7 separate regions of the Homo sapiens genome follow, and regions 2, 3, 4, 5, 6 and 7 are each linked to region 1. Evidence: promoter capture Hi-C in 16 types of primary human blood cells and fetal thymus (Javierre and others, 2016). All regions are on one chromosome and are shown on one strand. The core of a region is centred on a gene start or on the middle of the fragment in contact, and the rest is flanking DNA. Distances in the headings are between cores, read along the strand shown. Region 1 holds the start of MACC1 (MET transcriptional regulator MACC1). Region 2 has its middle 17 kb from the start of ABCB5. Region 3 has its middle 37 kb from the start of ABCB5. Region 4 overlaps TMEM196 (transmembrane protein 196). Region 5 overlaps TMEM196 (transmembrane protein 196). Region 6 holds the start of ABCB5 (ATP binding cassette subfamily B member 5). Region 7 overlaps TMEM196 (transmembrane protein 196).

Region 1 (3,092 bases), core at 334-2,833:
GATGGTGTTTAACAAACTTTGCCTTAATAGTTTTTATTATCTCTAAAACACAAACAGATAAAAATATTCTATTTGTAAATTAGCTACAAGGAAGTTGAGAAAACTGGAATAAATAATATTTTTGCTTTAAGTTTTAAAAATGAGTCATAACTAAAGCTTTTAAGCAAATTGTAACTAATAATTATGACTTCATAATTTCTAGATTCTGTACACTACCCATGAAATCATATTAAAAATCGCTATTATGAATAAAAGATAATCATGTAATTAAGTTCAGGGGGGCATAAAAGAATCACCACTGAGGTTAAGACAACTTTAAGAATATACCTGAAATTCATCATTATCACCCAGTAATTGCTATGTAAAAACCAGACATTAACATAGATAAGTCAATATCAATCCTAAATTAGACCCACTGAATATAGACTTAAGACATTTTTAGGAAATTAGGAAGACCTTTAATAAATGGAAGGCATTGGAATTTTCACTACATGCTTTTTGATCTTAAAAATAAATTTTTTAAAATCTATCTTTATTAATTGTGGTAAAAAACTTAACATACAATTTACCATCCTAACCATTTGTAAGTGTTTACACTTACAAATTTTAAGTTCAATAGTATTAAATATATTTACATTATTGTACAGTCTCCAAGTGTTTTCATCTTGTAAACTGAAACTCTATATCCATTAAACAACTCTCATTTCTCCTTCCCCCAAGCCCCTGGCAACTACCATTCTAAGTATCATTTATGTGAGTTTGACTACTCCAGATACCTCAGGTAAGTTGAATCATCCAGTATTTGTCTTTTTGTTTCTTTGGTGTGTTTTCCAAGCTTAATTGAAACTTAATTAGGATGAAGCCAAGTTACCCTCCATCATGTATCATCTGTCTATTCAGTACAATGCACTGTGCTAATTTAATGACCCCCTTAACTTAATTACATGATTATCTTTTATTCATAATTTAATGCTATTAACCTAATGAGGTAGGTTATGCACACACACTTTACAGATGAGGAAACTGAGACTTTGCGAGGTGAAACATCTTGTCAATGGTCATAAATCTAATAAGCAGTGGGGCTGCTGATTGCAACTTTATCTATCTTCAAAGCACAGTCTTTTTAACATACCTGTATGCTTTTTGAGATATTTAAAGTTTTTAGGGGATTTCAGCCATCTACATATTTTAAGCAACTCATAGAGTGTTTTGTTTTTGCCTTTGATGGTTAATGTGACCTGGGTTCCTCCTTTTTTTTAAAATAAACTACTTTATTCTAAACCATGTCTCAAGGTATTATTCTATTCTATGTCATGAGGTTTATTCTAACACATGTCCCATAAGCCCACAGAATACCAGTTACCTTCCCTTTATTTAAGCAGGGCTTGATTTGTTAAGCAGCTGGTTTGTTACATTTTTCTGGAAATTATACAACTTCCTAGTGTGTAGCACATATCAATAGTGAAAGGAATATTATTTTTAAAAAATCAGCACTTACATTTGTGGAAGTGAGCCCAAGCTTCTTCAGTTCAGACACATGGTTTTAGTGAATAGAAGTCACTCTACCAAACCCGGGTACTCTTCAAACATGCCTTGCTCCGTATGCAGGCAGGCAACTGCACCCCTGCTTCCTGAGCCACCTGGGACTTGAAGTTCTACCACTGTGGCTCCAAAGCTGCCCAACTAGAAACCCCAAAAGGCAAGAGAACTACGATACCCACAATTCAGGCTCCTCACCCGAAACCAGAAGAGGGCGTATGGCTAGAGTTTCACCCTAAGAAGAAAGGGGAAGCAGGTGGAAAAGCAATTAAAAAAAAATCAGGTGAGTATATCTAAGAACCATCTGTAAATATAATCTTATTTCCATGAAAGGAAATAAAAGTGGTTTAATGTTTGCCAGGGAGTAAGAAGGCACCCTCAGTGTTAGCAATAAGTAAAAAATATTTATGCAAGCAAATCCTCATGCAGCTGGAACTTGCCCCACCAGATTCTCTTTCGGTGATTCAGAGCTGAAGGTGCCTCACTGCCCTGTGGAACAGGTGAATAAAGCCTTCCCAGGTGAGTGACAGTGTCTAACTAGTTCCCCCTTTCCCTCTACATCAGCACTGTGATTGTCACTCAAAGACATAGACATATAGACATAATGGAGACCTTTTGGCATTTCATCTTCTAAAATGCTCTGGATTTTTAAGATAACACTTTAAAATGTGCCTTTTAAAATATAAGCAAGAATAAAGTTTTCTTGATATTTTCTTCCATTTTACTTTCCATTTCTGTGTTTTGTGTTTTCCTTCTGTGTATTTTGTTCAAAATTCAAGAAAGAGAAAATTAGGGGAAAGGGGAAAAAAGGTAAAACTTAGTGAAATGAAATGTGCAATAATTGTTTCACATTTTTTTCCAACATCAGCAACAGAGAATGTTTAAAACAAATGTGTTTCTCTATTTGTTCATACAGCATCTCTCTCTAGCCTATTATCTCCTGTTAGACACAGCCCAGAAAATGAATAGAGACAAGTCCTGGCTGGGTCTGGGTTCAGAAACATAATAGAAGGATTCATCTAATGTAAGTAGATGGCAGAATGGTGACAAAGAAAAAGTTTCCTTTCCCTTTTCTGCACTTTCTCTCCTACTGTTCTAACCACCCCTTCCTCCCTGATGCATCCCTGGCTTCATGCTGCCAGATCACCTAATCCACCCAGATTCCCTTTGAAGTTTCCCCTTGACTCATCCCACAATCCAAACTGAGCTGTTCTGTTTCTTTTTGTCACAGGTTCCTCAACTCTCTACTAGAACCTAGCTTTCCTTTATGTCATTATATTATTTCCAAAACAAATGGTTCTTAATTTCCCCAAACCCTACAGAGGGCATTCTGCATGGCATTTCTCCTCCCTGAAACCATTTTTGCTCATCTTGAAATGTTCAGAGATTTCATTTTTTCCAAAGCTCAATGAAAAACACTCTTCAAGATGTCCTTCTCAGTTTGTCTTAATCTGAGTTATTCTCTTCCTCCTAATCAATTTCATAATATTGCATCTGCTCCTCTCATAACACATTGTATATCTCATTTCATTGGTTTACATGGGTGTGTGTGT
Region 2 (3,045 bases), core at 506-3,005, 380 kb after region 1:
TCTAAATCCTCAGCTTCTTAGTCACCGCCTCTCCCCTCTGTGGGCTCATCAGAGACCCAACAGAGAAGCAATTGATTCTTCTCTGTCTCCCACAGTGATGAGAATAGACATGATGGAGAGCATATGAGGACATAAGCCCTTTTACCACAGAATTTACATTCTAGAAGGAGTGACAGATGTTACGCAATTACATAAGTATGAAATATAAATGAAAAGGGATAAATGCTGTGATGCAGAAGCTCCTGGTTCTATGAGAGTGTATTGTAAAGAAACTGATGCACACAGAGAGACAAGTAAGGGGAGAAAAGGGGGAGGAAGAGGGGATGGAGACAGAGAACAACTCAGGCGAGAGCCTGAAGCAGGAGGCGCGTGATGAGTTCAGGGAACTGAAAGAAGAAAATGGCATAGCACCAGGATGCTTGGACCTGTGGCCCTAGATGACCTGGGGGGCCCTTGTCCTGAGAACAATGAAGGGCCATTCACAAGGTTTAAGTCTCCAGATATTTTAATTCCTTCCATTCAGGAGCATGTCTTCCTCAACGAGAGATAGCCATGTCAGGGTAGCCCAGTCATTTTTTTGTGTTCACCTTACTGGTCTTCTGCTATAGTTTGTTACCTGGACACTGTAGCGGCTGTCCACTTTCTGTAGTGTATGTGTTCTCCCTAATACGACTCTTCCTTTCTCCTGGATCTATACACCGCTGACACTTCATCTTCCTAAAGTGCAATTTGCATCACATCACTCTCCTCAGAAACTTTCAGAGGCAAATTCAGGATGGAAGGTAAATTCAAGCACTCCTCTGTTTTTTCTGTTCCTATACCATCTGTCACCCTCACCAGCAGCTCTACTCTTCCCAGAATGAATCTTCTACTTCACCCAAATTGAGTATTTTTTCCCACCATCACACAAATGCTCATGGCATGCCTCCTTCTTGAAATGATCTTGCTTTCTTCCTACCCTAGTCTTAATCATCCATTAGAACAGCACCTGAGTCCCACATCTCTAGAAGCTTCCACAGCCAGTGCAGTTTACATTTATTTCTCTCTCTGGATCTGAGAGCTCTTGTTACCTCTGTTCTTCATATTTGTAAGTGGTCATAAATGAATGCACACTCTTGTGATATTCTGTAACTGTTTAGATAGGTTTATCGTGCTTCTATCAAGGACACAAGTTTTTTCTTATCAGAAGCCACATGTTCTATATTACTCATAGCTCTTAGTTGAAGGGTAAACTTCAGGGAAGAGGACAGCAGTCATTCAAGGATCTACACATAAACACTGTAGAATGAGCCATTCTATTTCATGAGCAACAATGACATCTAGTGGCTGACAGGTTGCATAGCTTCTTCTGACTTTAATAATCGGACAAGGCATTCAGAAAGAGAATATTACAGAATAATTAATGAACCCAAGTTATTCCCACCAACTACACTGCTTATGAAGGTATTTCAAATATGGATTTATGTGTTCTGGCTGCCCAAATGCTTCCCCCATCCTCCTGTGGTCCAACGACCCACAAACTACTGGTAAGAGGTCCCTGCCTGTGCTCCTTGCAAACCGCAACTTCCCTTTCCCGTAGGAAGATCACCAGAAATTTTCATGGAGATTATGCGATTTTCAACTTTCTGCTTCCTGTGAAGATAGAGGTTTATGTGGATAAATATTTATTTTGGAAAGAAAGTATGTAATTGAGTAGGAAACTTGAGATGATAAATATGATAACCAGAGTAGAAACGCACTTGAAAGCCAAATGAGAGAAAGTCAGTGTGGCGTAGAGGAAGTCTGTGGGCTTTGGCTTCTGAGGGACTTGGGATCGGATGCCAGGTCTTCCCATAAAGTCACGTGATCGTTATGACAGACTGACGTCTCTGGGGCGCCATCTTCGCATCCCAAACATTGAAGGCGACATATATACAGCCTACCGGGCAGCTTTGGGGAGGATTCGATACAATCCTATATAGTAAGATTTCGGCCTGGAGTAGGTAGCCCATAAATAATAGCTATTCCTATGGTTTTACATTTTACTGGAAATAATTGTCCTCCTCTTTCCAATTTGATATTTTTTAAAACCAAAAACCTGTTTTTTTATCTGAAATTGTCAATAACTCATTCTGATCTTCATTTAAATTACCTCGTTGCTTCTGATTTCAGATGTTTATGCTGGAAAATAATGAGGTTGAGGAAAATATCTCAAATCTCTGAAAATGACCCAGGAATTCTAATCTGCCATAGACCTCAAAATCTGAATAATAATGAAGGGTGTAGAAGAACTGGAGCAGACTATAATTATTGTTATATATAGCAGTTGAAAAAGTAACCCTTTTAACTCAAGGAACCTGGCTTTGTGGAGGGAGAAAACAGGCCTAGGAATAAATATGTAAACAAATTATCGCAAGAAAATATTGTGAAGTCCTGATTTGTGTGGCCTCCCTGTGGGCAGCACGGGAATCCACAATCACCCTTATAAAATGTTTCCTTAGAAAACATCATCTTGGCCTTCTAAGCTTTACCTGAACCTAAGGTAAAGGAAGAGCTTGTTTCAAAAGTTTACTTTTTTGCTTATTATTTGGAATGTAGCAAACATTTTTCTTATATTAAGTATTATTATATACAATGGTTTATTTCACAGCCAATCCCACAGATTAATGCCAAAGACAGGCTTCAATTACATAACTCCACAAATAGGACTGGTATAGGTAGCAAAAATGGACAGTGATGTTACTTTGGGAATACAGAATAATAGAATTCCTGGGCTGGAAGAAATTTGAGATCTCCATTCTAAATTCTAAGTGAGTAGATAAAAAACACACCTTCTCCCAGTTTCAGCTCTGATGTGGGAGCAAATAATCCTCTCCCCACTTAAGACAAATTCAACCTTCTTCCTCTCCTTCTCAGTATTGTAACAGAAACCACAGGAGGGTGGGGGAAAGATGGACAGGAAACCTGCCTCTAATTCTCACTCTTCCATTGTCGGTGGGCAGGGGGCCATTAGGAGCGTTAGTCATCCCAAAATCTCAAGGGCGAAAACAACCCGGATCTATTTCA
Region 3 (3,177 bases), core at 447-2,946, 360 kb after region 1:
AGTAAGTCTTGCTCCCAATAAGTTGATTGATTATAAGCATTCCTATTCCTTGGGAATCTTATCAAAAAGAAATTTTTTATTTTCTATTCAATTGCCAAAAAATGGAATTATAATTATGTTTCTGGTCTTTATATGTGCATTGTATTCCATTTGCTTTACTTCTACAATAACTAGGTAACCTTCCTGGTCTTAGATATATAACCCATAAGATATATGTTCACTATTGTATTTTGCTTAACCAAGCAGGATTGAATATGATTCTTTCTTTTCTTTGTTTTGTAAAGTTAGTCTATCCTTGATTTTATAGGTCTTCATTTCCCAACATCTGTACTGTATGAATAAGACAATTCTTATAAGAGGGTGAAAGTGGTTTCTTATTTTTTAAAAAACTGCTATTTTGAGAGCAGCTCACAAGTAATAATATGACAAGAAGTATTTTTGGTCTTACACCTGCGGAGACTACTATGCCACTGTGGGTTTTAAAGAGATCAAAATCTCAACTGAGTTAAGAGCTTTTAATTCTTTTTATCACTTTGCTGTTAAAACTATACTTAGTGGTAAGAAAAATAATAATTATTTTTATTAGATTTGGATTAATTGATAAATATGTGATAAATGCATGGCTTTTAAAGATTACAAATGTTTTATGGGACCCATAGATTCCTAGATTCCTAGACCTGTGTCAAAAACTAGACCATGGATGGCAATTAAAGATGGTGATGCTCAATGACACAGAGATATAAATGCAAATGAAGTTGGCAATATTTATATTCTAAAACCACCTTAAAGCCCCTGCTATGTCATACTTCCTCTAATGAGGGAGCTTAACAGATAAACACTGACCTTTGTATTCAATTGCCCTCTGAAATGAAAGCAAAGAAAAAGTTTGCTATTCCTCATAAACTAATTTTCTACCTTTTTATCAAATTCAGAATATAGTTTCCCTTTCTGTTTTGGCTTCCAGGGAAATCAGAGTTAACTGAGATTGAGCTCTTATTTTTCAGGCCTGAAAATACATGTAATCCAGATGTTGAGGAACTAACTCACATCGTGGTAATTTTAAACCACAGGGATTTAAAGGTCACTTGGTCTAACATTCCCACTCAAATCTGAAATCCCTCTACAGCTTCTCTGACACGTGGCCATTTTAGCTGCACTTGAATGTTTCTAGTACACACAGCTCATGATTTCATGAAGGAGTTCTTCCCCCAGGGTTAGTTCTAAAATTCAGAAAGCTTACAATGTAGTGAAATTTACTTTTTTCCTTAACTTCGCATTAGTTCTGCCCTCCAGAGCCATACTTGATTAAAAAAAAATCCCCGTTTCATATGACTTTCCTCTTTGAATATTTAATTTAAACTGCCTTGCCTTTCCTTAGATTTCACTCCTAGCTCTGCTACTTGCTAGCTGTGAGATCCTGGGAAACTTACTCAACGTCTTTAAGCCTCAGTGTTTCCCTCTGTAACATGGAGATAATAATAGGATCCACTTCATAGGGTTATCTTAAGGAATTTATGAGAAAAAAAACTTGTAAAAATGCTTAACACATTGTCAGTACTCCCTGTGACTATCTTAAAAGATCTTTTTTCCTCAAGTATGTTCTCTCAGTGGCTTATATGGAAAGCCCTCTTTCTCTCAGTTCATCTGCATTCCTCCATTTTTGTTATTGTTCAAATTGCTCTTTCGCAATGCTTTTTCCACCTCCATGGCAAATAATTAGAATGTGACAGTGATGCTGCCAGATCTCCATAGTTCTAATGAGCCCTGCTAAACACACTCAAGTGCCACTTGTCTCCCTGTCGAGGTCTACCTTCTCTGCAGGCCAGAGCTCAGCACAGTGTCAAAGAAAACCTGTTGGTGATTGCCTACTTCTCTCTTGGAATCTCCTGTTCCTTCATTCTAACCTTCGATCACCATGCAGAGATGTAAAATCTGGGCTGCCATGTATACCCTTTCTCATTCAGCTTCTCCCAGGTCTCGCCAAAAATAAATAAATAAATAAACTTACCTGTTCTGTGTTCTTTTTCATCAGTGCCCTCATCTGACCTGGTATTGGTCATCTAGTCTTGCAAACCAGTTGTGCTCTTCAGCTAATAGAAACTCATGGCTTAATTTTTCACCCTTCCAAGAAACAAAAAAAAAAATGTTAATTTTGGGCCAAGCTTAGCACCTTGACACATCCTTGAAATGACTTTAAGTCTTTGATAACACGTGATTTCTTTTTCCCTTTTTTCCTTTGCTGTAGGTATCTTAATAAGTGCGTGTGTATGTGTGTGTGCGTGCATGCGTGCACGTGCATGCATACACACAGAGCATTGCAACCTCCTACACCCATTAACAATAGGTGGTATCTTCTTTAGGAAGGCAACAGTGTCAATCTCAGGTAATTGGAAGAGGGTGGCATGAGATGGGCCTCTCAATAAGAAATCTTGTGACATACCTTAATAAGGGTGTCTTCCCCCAAAATACTTGCATTATCTATGGCTTAGTTCAACCCTAAATACAAATTTATTCATGAGTCCATGCTATGAACATACTTATACATAAGAGATATTTCACAAATGCTGTTTGTTGGGGATGAATATTCACAAATGCTGTTTTGGGGGGATGAATATTTACTATCAGCCCTTGACTTTTTAAAAAATTAAGAAATTAACATAAAAGGATAAAGAGAAGATTTTCAAATGCCTTAGGGCTAGATGTTGTGAGATTCTCTTTCCACAGTATTTTCTTAATGCTGTCTTAATGCCAGATTTCAAAATGAATCATCCAAGAAAACTAAAAAGACCCTGTAACCTATTTTTCAATCAAAGTCAACAGAAGCATAACTTTCCTGAATATTTCATGTATCCACCAAAACAGAAAATGGCTGCAATTTCTCTAAAAGTTAGGCTATTCTCTGAACATATCCCCTCAATCTTTCCCATTTAGAAGTTGTCCACACTAAATATGAGTTCACTCTTTGAGTATGAACTTATAGTTAACATGTTCAAATTGATTGTGCTCACTCTGGTTGCTGGCTTTTCTTAGAAACGTCTTCTATTGACTTGTTTTCTACTTTCAGAGATGTGGCAAATTTCAGGAAGCCTATATTATAAAAATTGAATTGGAATAAAGTGAAAAAATAAATCAGCGACTCAAAGGGTTGTTTCAGCTATTAAACCAGACACTTTAGGT
Region 4 (3,074 bases), core at 322-2,821, 480 kb before region 1:
TAAAACTGAAGAAAAGACAAAAAGGCAATGGTATATAAGCATTATACTCTATTTAACAAAGTTGTTTCCTACAGGGTTACTGGTTAATGATTTTGACACCACTATACATGTATACTGAAATTGAACAATTAAGTAAATGCGTAGATGGTAAAAGCCAGATTTCTTACTGTTAGAGTGAGAGTTCAGAAATAAGTCAGGGTAAGAGTCTAGAATGATCCACATCGTAAGGGATTGGAGTTGTAGGTATCAGTATTAAGCAATTTTTAGTTTAATATAGATACAGATGGTTACATATATAACTATTTATATAGATGTCTATACACACATTGGCATATACTCATACATATATTTCTTTGCTCTGTTTACTGACAAGTCGCAGGAGGAGCAACATGCCAGTATCAATGAGCACACCTATCACCCAGATCTTGGTTTCTAATACCTTCTCCTATAAAAGGAACCATGCATCCTTGGAGAAATGGCTGAATTTTGGACTGGGGCAGGAAATATATAAGATGAACATGGAGCATACAAACAAACAAAACCCACATTGAGGTTTGTCAAAGGGACAAAGGAGCCAACTGAAATAGCTTCCAATGACTAAAGGCTGGAGCAATTCAAGCACCAAAATAAAACAGCATGGGATTATGACCCAATGTGTACAATAAATATCCTTGAGGCCATAAAAATGAATGATAGACTAAATCAGCAAATGGAGAGAAGAGAAAAATCTACTGTACAGAAAAATTTCAAATAACTTATGTAGATATTTTGCTCTCAAAGAAGTGGAGCATAACTTCCCACTATCTAAGTGTGAGCCACACGTAATGATTTTCTTCGAAAAAGTACCATATGGGAAAGGAGAAAAAAGAGTAACTTTAGGGTGGAGAGACTGAACAAACACCACCTCAATCAGGTGACCAAGGTCAATGCCAACAGTGATAAATCATGTTGATGGTACATATCCTTCATACAATGTGATGAAAATGGCAGGGATGCCCACTATTACCACTTGTGTTATACATTGGAGCAGAGCCAGTAGACAATTCAAATAGGCAATAGAAAGAAATTAAAAGTATGAAAATTGCAAAGGTGGAAGTGAAACTATCATTATTTGCAGACAATATAATTGATATATGAAATTCCCAAGAGAATCAACTCTACATGGTAATATAGAAAGGTAGCAAGGCACAAATTAATATTAGAAAGCAGTAATATTCATATATGCCAGTGATAAAATTCCTAAAAATAAATTGTGTAATATAAGTATAAATAAGGAGAAAACTTAAAAACATTAATGAAGAATATTATAGATTTGTACAAATGAAAATACATAAAATATAATTGCTATAGTCTGAATATTTGTGAATGGGATTAGTGACCTTATAAAGGAGGCCTCAGAGAGCTTGTCCATCTCTTCAGTTACCTGAAGACACAGCTAGAAGTTGCCATCTTTGAAGCAAAGAGTGAACCCTCAACAGACACTGAATCTCTGGGCAGCCTGGGGAAAATATTTGCAACAATAAGCAAAAGACTAATTTCCCTAATGTAAATGAACTCCTAAAAACTAATAAGGAAAAGATAAACGATTCAATGGAAACATACACAAAAGATATGAACAGATACTTCCCTGAAATACAAATGACTTCTAAACATAAATATGCTCAACCTCATCAGTAATAAGAGAAATGCAATTTCAAACTAACTCAAATATGTTTCTTCACTTATCAGATTGGCAGAAATCCTTTGATGCTGTTCTTTACTGTTCGATAATCTTGGCAAAGATGTAGAGAACTACAGAATCATACAATGCTTATAGATAAATTGATTACTGAAAGGAATTCAGCAACAATTATCAAAATTATACAGGTGTGTTTTGTGTGTGTGTGTGTGCACACATGTATCTCCTTTGCCTCAGCAGTCCCACAAGTGAGAAGTTATCCAACAGATTTAGCTGCAAGTGTACAAACTGATCCATGTGCCATATTATTTATTTTAGCACTATTAGTAATAACACAAGAAGAGCAGTCCCAAATGTCAGTCAGTAGATAACTGGTTAAATTTAAAGGCATTCTTTGCATCTATTAAAAATATATGAGAAAGATTACTATTCACTGATATGGAGAGTTCTCCAACACATATAGTTAAGGGAAAAAAGCAAGGTGTAAAATTGTGTATGTAATATACTACCTTTTGTGTAGAAAGGCAAGAAATATATAATTATCTATATACAAGTTTGCTCATACATGTGTAAAGTAACTCTGGAAAAACAAGAAACAAATGGCTGTGATTATTTGGGTTAGAGGAGTGATGGCAACCTGATCAAGGGGACTGAACTTTTGTTGAATGCTTTTGGTTTTATTTACATTTGAACCATTTTTAGGAGTTACTTATTCAAAAAGTTAAATAAGTTGACTCCTATTTGCTCAAGGCAAAATTATGATGTAAATATTAAGAAAAAATAGCCCATCAAGATTCATTGTTATTCAGTTTTGTGTTCTCCGTGGCTATTTAAAAAATACTAACAAAAACTCCCTAATCTGTACATACTCAGAATGTGTATTTGGAATGAGAGGGTGGCACCCCTTTTTGGGGTGGGCCAAGGAGCTCTGCTAGCGTTTTTTCAACCACAACCACCGAGGTCATTGTTTTGCCTGCCTATATCCAAGGCTGGTTTTGCATGTGGAATTGAAATGAATTCAGAATCTGGAGGGTCAGGTATTTCAGGAACAAACTCAAAAGTTCCATAGAGTAGTTTATAAGAATTGAGTACAGAAATAAATTAAGCCTATCATGGAAGATTGAGGTTGAAGGCTGAGCGTAGTTTTCTTCTTAAATATAATGAAGGATAAACCACTACATGTTGAAGTAGATGCAGCCTCCACCTTCAATAACTAACATATTTCATCTTTATTTAGAAAGTAGCTTGTAGTTCCCACACATTCATAATAGTTGCTGAAATAAAGTCTTCATTTTGTAAAGCATTTTGATAGTCTCTCGACCCTCTAGAAAAAACAGATGGATTGAAAAAGGAATTATGCTCTGTGACGGGCGAGTTTATGAAGAAAATAAATTAT
Region 5 (2,916 bases), core at 41-2,540, 460 kb before region 1:
CTTAGCAAAACAAAATGTGAGGCCAGGCGTGGTGGCTTATGCCTATATTCCAGCACTTTGGGAGGCTGAGGCAGGCAGATCACTTGCAGCCAGTAGTTTGAGACCAGCCTGGCCCACATGGCAAAACCCTGTCTCCACTAAAAATATAAAAATTAACCAGGCATGCTGGCATATGCCTGTAATCCCAGCTACTCAGGAGGCTGAGGCACAAGAATCGCTTGAACCTGGTGGGCAGAGGTTACAGTGAGTCAAGATTGTGCCACTGTACTCCAGCCTCCAGCCTGGACAGCAGAGTGAGACTCTATTTAAAAAAAAAAAAAAGCATGAAGTTTCCTGACCAGCTACTCATTTCTTTTGATCAAAAAAAAAAATGTATTCAGACAAAAGCTATGCAATAGAAATCTAATGTAAGCCACAAATGCAAACCACATATATCACTATTCTTTTTAGTAGTACATTAAAAGATCAAAAGGGGGATTTCAGCAATGTAGTTTATTTAATCTAATATATAAAAAGTATTGTCATTTTTCCATGTAATCAACATAAAACGACTTGAGACATTTTACATTCTTTTTTCCATACTCAGTCTTTGAAATCTAGTATGTATTTTTTACCTGTAGCACATCTTTGTTTTTTAAACTTTTATTTTAAAAGTTACGTGTGTAGGAGTACATCTGCAGGTTTGTTATATGGGTAAACTTGTGTCATGGTGGTTTGTGGTATAAATTATTTCCTCAACCAAGTATTAAGCCTAGATTCATTAGTTATTTTTCCTGATCCTCTCCCTCCTCCCATCGTCCACCCTCTGAAAGGCCCCAGTGTGTGTTGTTCCCGTCTATGAGTCCATATGTTCTTATCATTTAGCTCTCTTATAAGTGAGCTAATGTCTTATTAGCTCACTTTAAAAGTGAGCTCTTATTAAAAGTTCTTATTGAAAGACATTAGCTCACTTATAAGTGAGAACATGTGGTATTTGGTTTTCTGTTCCTGTGTTAGTTTGCTGAGGATAATGGCCTCTAGCTCCATCCATGTCCTGCAAAAGACCTGATCTTATTCCTTTTTATGTCTGCATAGTATCCCAGGTATATATGAACCGCATTTTCTTTATCCAGTCTATCACTGATGGGCAATTAGGTTAATTCCATGTCTTTGTTATGGTGAATAGTGTAAAGCACATCTTAATTCACACTAGCCACATCTCAAGTGCTCAATAGCCACATGTGGCTATTGGCTACTACATTTTACCATGCAAGTCTAGATGAGGCACAGTTCCAGTAATGGCTACAAGTCAAGAAAAGACAAGTTTCTTCCCAAATATCTTATCACTCAGAAAATACAATGTTTTCCTAAATTAGCTCTAAAGGCAGTTTGCTTTTTACCTGCATAAGTTTTCTGATAACCTATAGTGTAATATCCCCAAAACTTGCATCTTATATTGCAGTAGATACTTTTTTTTTTTTTTTTGAGATGAAGTCTCAGTTTGTCACCCAGGCTGGAGTGCAGTGGCGCAATCTTGGCTCACTGCAACCTCCGCCTCCAAGGTTCAAGCGATTCTCTCATCTCAGCCACCCAAGTAACTGGGACTATAGGTGCGTGTCACCACACCCAGCTTTTTTTTTTTTTTTTTTTTTTTTGTATTTTTAGTTGAGATGGGGTTTCACCAGTTGAGATGGGGTTTCACTTGACCAGGCTAGTCTTGAACTCCTAACCTAGTCACTTGACCAGGCTAGTCTCGAACTCCTAACCTCAATTGATCCACCCGCCTTGGCCTCCCAAGTGCTGGGATTACAAGCATGAGCCATGATGCCCAGTCAATGCTTTCATCTTAGTATTTTTTAAACCCTCATGTCCCCTCTAAAAGACTATTCTGTAGGTCTGAGGGTCTAAGAGGTTTAGTGAGATAGCTTGGCTGGAGCTGAAAAGACATTAGCAAAATCATGAGTTAAAGTTACTCCTTTTTTTTACTCCAAAGTAACTGATCCTTTGAGAAAATATTTTACTTTAATTATAAGTGATTGGTATATAAAATTAATTAATATTGCTTGTCTTTTATATGATATTTTAGTTTCTTACTTTCATATTAGAAAACAGCCCACTCCATCACTAGTAAATATGCTGTACTCTATCCATGGTTAAAAATAAAAGCATTAAAAAGGTTACCTTTTTAAACATATAGGATGATTAAAAGGCATTTATCTTTTAAAATAGTGTTGAATGAAGCCATTTTTATATATATACTTTTTTTTTTTTTTACTAAGAACCCCAGGCAAATGGTGTAGTAAATTTATAAATTTTAATTCATATATATTTGAATTAAAAAGAAAATGCTCAGATAGCAAATGTTAATAGCCTAATGACTTTGACATTTCCAGTCCAAAGTTTTGAATGTTCACTGCTTGATAAATGAGCTTTGGACTCTGTTTTTAAAAAAACCTTCTTGAAGGCAATTCACTTACTTATCCAAATTGATCAATAGCTCTTGTTGGTTTGGAAAATATTAGCTTCTAAAAATTAGCTTCCATTTCTCATTTGGTCTGGAAAAGCACCATGGAAAAGATGCCAAAATTGGTGTAGAAAGCCATTTCTTTGAAACTTCCAAACAGGTAGAAACCTCTGAAATCTGTTAACATACTAATTATATTTCCATTATGGCTTAGCACTGCTAATAATTTGGGATCATTCCTGTTCAGTTTTGGGTAGTGGCCAGATAACTGCATTTTCCTTTTGGTTGAAAGATTTTTTTAAGGATAGTTAATATTTTGAATCATCTGTCGAAATAATGTTAGAATAAAAAAACAGATGATTTGGACTCTGGTCCTAGTTCTACAGCTAGCCAGCTATGCTGATTCTCTGGACTTTAGTTTACTTATTTGTGAAATGATGAATTTAGAATAAATTATTTCTAAATCTCTGGTT
Region 6 (3,035 bases), core at 199-2,698, 400 kb after region 1:
GTGGAGGAAATGGGGAGATGTTGGTCAAAGGGTACAAACTTCCAGTTATAAGATGGGTACAGGATGGTGACTACAGTTAATAATTCTGTATTGTATATTTGAAATTTGCTAAGAGAGTAGATCTTAAGCGTTCTCACCAGACACGCACACACACAAACACGTAAATATGTGAAGTGATGGATGTGCTCATTGCAGTAATCATTTCACAATGTATATGTATATCACATCATCATGTTGTAAACCTTAAATATAGACAATAGTATTTGTCAATTATACATATTAAAGCTGAATAAATAAAATAAATTAATTAAAATTATATAAAACTCAAAATTCAGCTCCCTCACTAGGCACATTAAAAGCGCTCAATAGCCACATATGTGTAGCGGCTAGGATATTGGATGTGTGGAGAATATCTCAATTATTGCAGAAAGTTCTGTTGGATGGCTCTGCTCTAGAAGTAACACTTTTAGCTACATTACACCACTTCTGTGCATTTAGATGACATCATGAGATTTTTAAAGCAAAATTAATTATTCCTTCTGTGCATATGACAATTGCAAGTTTATCTCTAGGTTGGCAATTTTCCTAATTATTAGTGCCACATTTACATCTGTTTGCCAGATATTTTCACTTGGACACCAATATCAACCCAAATTTGCATATTTAAACTGAATGTTACCATTTCCCCAAAACCAATTCTGTCTCATAACTTCTCTATTACCATCTTTACTACTCTTTTGTTACAACTTTTAAAAGTTTGATCGCTGAACTTATATTTTTTTTATTTCTTCTTCCTTGTCCTCTTTACCTACCTACCGCCTTAAAAATACCTCTCAAATAGTCTTACTTACTGCTATCAAACTAGATTTTAATGAGTCTACTTAAATCTTGTGTTTCCCCAAGTCCTTCCAGTATATCCATGGCTGTAATGTCAAATAATCAGGTTAATTGTACCAAATACCAATGGCTTTGTCTCTTTCATTCCAGAAAATTATAAAAGTTGTCCTAAAAATTGGTTCAGTGCCTTTTACAATCGTATGTACCTTATCTCTCTCTCCATTTCTGCATGAACAGTCCATCCTATCCAAACCGTTCTCATTTCTCTACCATGAGATAATTCACCTTGCATTCCTAAAACTATGCCCTTGTTCCTCCTCCACATTTTTCTACTTACTGAAACCTTAGCCTTCCTCCAGAAACTAACCTCAGGGCCATCCTCATCTGTGGGCGAAACCATTTTAGATCACAATGTTCTTCCTCAGTCTTCTTAGATACTAGAATAGTCACTCTTTGTACTATTCATCACATAACGTCTGTCTTGCCAGGTATATTAGGTTCCCCTAGAGAAATAGAATCAATAGGCCGTGTGTGTGTGTGTGTGTGTGTGTGTGTGTGTGTGTGTATGTAGAGAGAGAAAGAGAAAACACGCTCATGTAATTGTGGTGACTGGCACTTCCAAAATCCACAAGCCAGACTAGAAGGCTGGAAATTCTGGCAAAAAATTGATACCTTGTATCTGAAAGCTTTATCCTATCCTCTTCAGAAGACTTCAGTCTTTTCTCTTAAGGACTTCAACTGACTGGATGGGGCCCACTCAAAACAGCATCTAAGGAATTAAAGTAAGTCAAAGCAAAAGTATTAGAGATTATGAAAACAATTGAAGCTTGTGAAGAATATAAAACACTTCTCCATCTTAGAAAGAATAGTTTGTGGTAAAGATGGAAACAAAAATGTGTGTGTATGAAACTTTTTCATAGTCAGAAATGATCATCCTACTATTATTTTGGTCATTTTAAAGCATCCATACAATTCATATCTTCTTTCTTTCTTTCCCTGTGACAGGGTCTCACTCTGTCACCCAGGCTGGAGTGCAGTGGCACGATGTTGGCTCACTGCAACCTCCGCCTCCAGGGTTCAAGAGATTTTCCTGGCTCAGCCTTCTGAGTAGCTGGGATTGCAGGTGCCCAGCACCATGCCCAGCTAATTTTTTTATTTTTAGTAGAGATGGGGTTTCACCTTGTTGGACAGGCTGGTCTCGAACTCCTGACCTCAGATGATCCAGCCGCCTTGGCCTCCCAAAGTGCTGGGATTACAGGCATGAGCCACTGCGCCCAGCCATATCTTCTTTCATCTAACCAAAGATCCCATGTTTTCCATCCAACCAGTATATCTTAGCTATTTGTCAGATTATTCTTACCAAGGATGCTTGAACGTTAAGTGCATCTCATGATTTCTTCTCACATGGGTATTTTGTCCTATGATTTCCATCTTGGTACATGAACCTAGAAATATTTTTTAAGGCAAAAGTCCTTATAAATAAAATATTCTGTCTATTTTTACATTTTCTTGTATGTTCCATAGTACTTGCCATGATAGCATCCACACAGCTGTCAATAAGTAAGAATTGGCTGACTGATAGATTTTGTGTAGAGCAATTAAGATGTTCAGAGTTCTTCTCTCATGTTATCTACTTAGTGCTGGATATTACTACCTGATTATCTCACAAATATCTCAAACTTGACAAGTTTCAAGTTAAATTTATCTTCCTTTTGAAACATTGGGTAACAGAGAGGAACATGGGGGCAGCCATCATAGTCAACCTGTAGCTTTCCATACAGTGAGGACCTGCCAACTGGCTCACAAATTGCTTTGACCTTGTGTCGCTTTGTCTCAGTGCACTTTTCTCTACTATCTAAATAGTATTCCTTCTGCCTGGGATAGTCTTTTTGATCTTTATATAGCAACCTCCTTTTATAATTCAGATTGCAGCTTAAACATTATCTTCTACAAGGGGCTTTCTCTGACCAGATGTATATAAATACCACATTACTCTTCATAAAATTACCCTGTTTTAATTATATACCAAAAACTGACCACTCTCTAATTTTCCTTATTTATGTATGCCTTTTTTTAAAATTGTGACTCTCCCTGTAATGGAGTCTAAGCTCTATGACAGCAAAGATGTCTAGGCTGTTCAGTGCTTAAAACAGTACCTGGCACAGTATATATCTATAGAATGAGTAAATTTTTTTAAA
Region 7 (2,951 bases), core at 141-2,640, 500 kb before region 1:
AGTAAATTCTGTCTCATATGATCTGTGTCTTATTTTCTCTTGCCCTCAGGGACTTCACATTCTTATTATAATCATTTTGTTTGATGGCTTCAACCAGTCTCTCTCTATACTTGAACATATTCTAGCTTTTGTATCTCAAATAATATTCTTATTTAATTCTGTATCCTTCGTCTGTGACTGTCTCTTTCCCCTCATTCACAGCAGGCCATCCCTTGCCACTCTCAGAATAGCATATTTATTCATGTAGCTATTGGGGAAGGTATTTCTGTATTATAATGAAAAGAAAGCCAACACCATATATAGTTTCAAAGCACATCATTTTATTATAGACATGTCAGTAGAGTTATCATTTCCTGTTCCACTTCCAAACCATTGTGTGTGTGTATATACACATATGTGTATGTATATGCATATATATACACACATACACATATATGTTTAAAATTTCCAAAGCGAGCCCAATTTTATTCTTTTATGCTTATAATACTCTACCTATTTGATATGGTCCAAAGTATACCACCACTCCAGTTTCACATAGTTTTTCTAATTTAGTATCACCTTACTTTCTTCCAAGGGTAGGCTCATACTAAAACTATAAGGTAGTCACTTAAAACATTCCAGCATGTGGTTCAATGTATTGTCCAAATTAAAGTTTCAAGCACTTGAACAATGTCTTCCTAACATCCCCCACTTATCTAAAAAAGAATCGCCGCACATCCCAAGTAAATCATTCTAAACTCAATTCTGAAAATACTAGGTAGAAATAATCATATTTAAAAATATATCTATACTTGGTTAAACATACACTGTAAACTATTTGAATAATTGTGATGATGGCATCTCTTTTTAACTATACATCAAAGCAGTGATATGTCTCCTTTTGTCCTTTAATGTGTTATGTTATAGATCAGTTCAAAAGGCATTACAACATTTTTCTGATGTATTATAATTTTGTATTGAACAAGCATGTTTATAGAGAAATGCTACTGAAAATTAGAGTCAGTGTTTATTCTTTCAGTACAAAACTACATCCTTGCATGAATTCAGGAGGACCATACACACACAAATATCTTCATGATGTAATTTAGATTTTCATTGGCAAAGATCATGCCTGTTTGTGGCATTGAATGAATAGTTATGATGTTGATTCACTATATGAGGTTGCATTTATGGACAACTTCTGTAATCTACTAGGCAATGAAGTTATCCAAAGGAATTGGGAGACTTCAAAAAGTGCACCAAACAAGCAGAGTCCAGTTATTTCTGTTGAATAGATGACAGCCAGAATTTTAAGTGAGCTGATTTAAATAGGTTAAACGATGATCATGTTGCTATAAAAGACCTTCAAATTTTCATTAACTTGAATGATCATTACTGTGTTAGCACAATTAAAACTCATGTTTTGTTTATAAATTATATTCTCATACTGAACAGTAAATATTTTAATTTACCTATGGTTCAACAAGTAACTCATAAAAAATGACTTGAAAATTGATTAGATTTGAGGAAAAAGAAAAGTATACAATATAGTGAGAGTTATGTATTTAAAAATGATAGATTTCTTTGTCTGTTGCCAGAGGTTATATTCTGATAAATATATTCAGATATATGTTGTTTTTTCACTTATATGTGTTGTTCTTGTTTGCTATTTTAACATTCCATTATTAGAGGAAAGGATTGAATCTAGCTATACAAATGTTAGCCTATCTTTTCACTTTTTCCTCAAAGAATTCTTTCAGGATCTTTGGATATAGGCTTTCTTATATATGGACTGCCTATATTATTTCATGAGAATCGTAAAACAAAACACCTAAATTAGATTACAGCAAAGGTAATTATAACTTCATTGTTGGGGGGTTACATCATCTGCCCTTTTGTATCATTTAACTGGACTGCAAGGTGTTTGAAATATCAATATCATCAATAATTTTAAGTCATGATATCTTTATAAATACGGAAGTATGTCATTAAAGTCATGTTCGTTTATAAATTAATTTTAATTGCTATACATAAATACTATAATCATAGTGAAATAGTCAAATAAGTAGTCTATCTGTATACTACACTATTCAGATCACTCATCTTCATAAATATCACCCACAATGATATTTACACAAAACCTAATTAAAAGAAGAAAAATGGGCAATTTTAGTAGAAATTAAACATGTGATTTTGTGGGCATAGAAGGGCCTTGAGCAATTGCCTTCCCATTTCTATTGGAGTAGAATCTTAATAATACCCCCACAGCATCACAATTTCTTTTCTAATACCTATTTACATTCATGTATGCTATAATATATGCTGTATACATGTTCTATATTTACAGTATGTATACACACATTCACACACATACTTTATTCTTAGGCTCATTCATGAACATGCAGATCAATCTGCACAGTATGATCAAAACATGTTTATTTTCTTAAATGATATTCACATATAACTTTTCACTCTTTGTGCAAAAATGCAAAAATACCATATAGATTAGTATTCTCTCTCTCTAAAAAGTCTCTTTTTTATGCTTGAGGTTTTTTGTCATTTACAAATAAATTATGAAATATATTTCATTCACAAGTTGAAAATAATTACAATGTTTTTATAACAAGGCATTACTGAGGTTTTGAATTGTAGCATCCTTGAAGCCATCTGTCTTTCAGAACAAAGACGTCAATAAGTTATTTTTATTTCTTGATATTTGCACTTTTCAATTACTCATATGAAATATGTCATTACAAATATAATAATCATGCTAGTCAAATAGTGTTTGTATAGAATATGCATTTTATTTCTGTTTTATTATCTCTTTTTCCTGAAAAGTCTTCTTTAGAACAATCTGGAAAGCCTCTTGAAATTATTGTACTAGAATGTTTCTGGAAAGTTTTTTACCCCATAAAAAAGGGTGGAGAAACCAGTGAGGCAATATATTTTTTAGGAAGAATAATTTTAGTGGA

What was found. The method cuts DNA at HindIII sites, captures the fragments that hold promoters and counts their contacts. A CHiCAGO score of 5 or more calls a contact.
Region 2: a contact is called between a fragment that was not itself captured here and the fragment with the promoter of MACC1 in region 1, in 6 of 17 cell types (monocytes, M0 macrophages, M1 macrophages and 3 more). The highest score is 19.5, in monocytes.
Region 3: a fragment that was not itself captured here is called in contact with the fragment with the promoter of MACC1 in region 1 in 2 of 17 cell types (M0 macrophages and M1 macrophages); the score reaches 5.2 in M0 macrophages.
Region 4: a fragment that was not itself captured here is called in contact with the fragment with the promoter of MACC1 in region 1 in 1 of 17 cell types (total B cells); the score reaches 5.6 in total B cells.
Region 5: a fragment that was not itself captured here is called in contact with the fragment with the promoter of MACC1 in region 1 in 6 of 17 cell types (megakaryocytes, total B cells, M2 macrophages and 3 more); the score reaches 9.8 in megakaryocytes.
Region 6: a contact is called between the fragment with the promoter of ABCB5 here and the fragment with the promoter of MACC1 in region 1, in 2 of 17 cell types (megakaryocytes and monocytes). The highest score is 7.5, in megakaryocytes.
Region 7: a fragment that was not itself captured here is called in contact with the fragment with the promoter of MACC1 in region 1 in 1 of 17 cell types (monocytes); the score reaches 6.4 in monocytes.

Annotation. Positions count from the first base shown.
Region 1 is chr7:20,215,801-20,218,892 of GRCh38, forward strand. MACC1 (MET transcriptional regulator MACC1) reads right to left here and starts at 1,584. Exons shown (of 7, transcript NM_182762.4): 1 at 1,499-1,584. GIRGL (glutamine insufficiency regulator of glutaminase lncRNA) reads left to right here and starts at 1,777. Exons shown (of 4, transcript NR_134569.1): 1 at 1,777-1,822; 2 at 2,456-2,563. RefSeq lists an enhancer at 1,409-2,608. The HindIII fragment of the contact is 5,395 bases long and covers 1,518-3,092 here.
Region 2 is chr7:20,597,405-20,600,449 of GRCh38, forward strand. No RefSeq gene overlaps it. Among named protein-coding and RNA genes, the nearest start is that of ABCB5, 17 kb to the right of the region's middle. The HindIII fragment of the contact is 1,494 bases long and covers 1,009-2,502 here.
Region 3 is chr7:20,576,773-20,579,949 of GRCh38, forward strand. No RefSeq gene overlaps it. Among named protein-coding and RNA genes, the nearest start is that of ABCB5, 37 kb to the right of the region's middle. The HindIII fragment of the contact is 927 bases long and covers 1,234-2,160 here.
Region 4 is chr7:19,738,084-19,741,157 of GRCh38, forward strand. The region is part of intron 1 of TMEM196 (transmembrane protein 196); the gene reads right to left. The region is part of intron 1 of LOC107986774 (a long non-coding RNA gene); the gene reads left to right. Among named protein-coding and RNA genes, the nearest start is that of POLR1F, 31 kb to the left of the region's middle. The HindIII fragment of the contact is 6,426 bases long and covers 1-3,074 here.
Region 5 is chr7:19,755,728-19,758,643 of GRCh38, forward strand. All of the region lies in intron 1 of TMEM196 (transmembrane protein 196), which reads right to left. All of the region lies in intron 1 of LOC107986774 (a long non-coding RNA gene), which reads left to right. Among named protein-coding and RNA genes, the nearest start is that of TMEM196, 16 kb to the right of the region's middle. The HindIII fragment of the contact is 4,792 bases long and covers 1-2,916 here.
Region 6 is chr7:20,614,219-20,617,253 of GRCh38, forward strand. ABCB5 (ATP binding cassette subfamily B member 5) reads left to right here and starts at 1,449. Exons shown (of 28, transcript NM_001163941.2): 1 at 1,449-1,619. The HindIII fragment of the contact is 15,833 bases long and covers 1-1,521 here.
Region 7 is chr7:19,719,015-19,721,965 of GRCh38, forward strand. It overlaps TMEM196 (transmembrane protein 196), which reads right to left. Exons shown (of 5, transcript NM_001363562.2): 5 at 301-2,951. Among named protein-coding and RNA genes, the nearest start is that of POLR1F, 11 kb to the left of the region's middle. The HindIII fragment of the contact is 9,231 bases long and covers 1-2,951 here.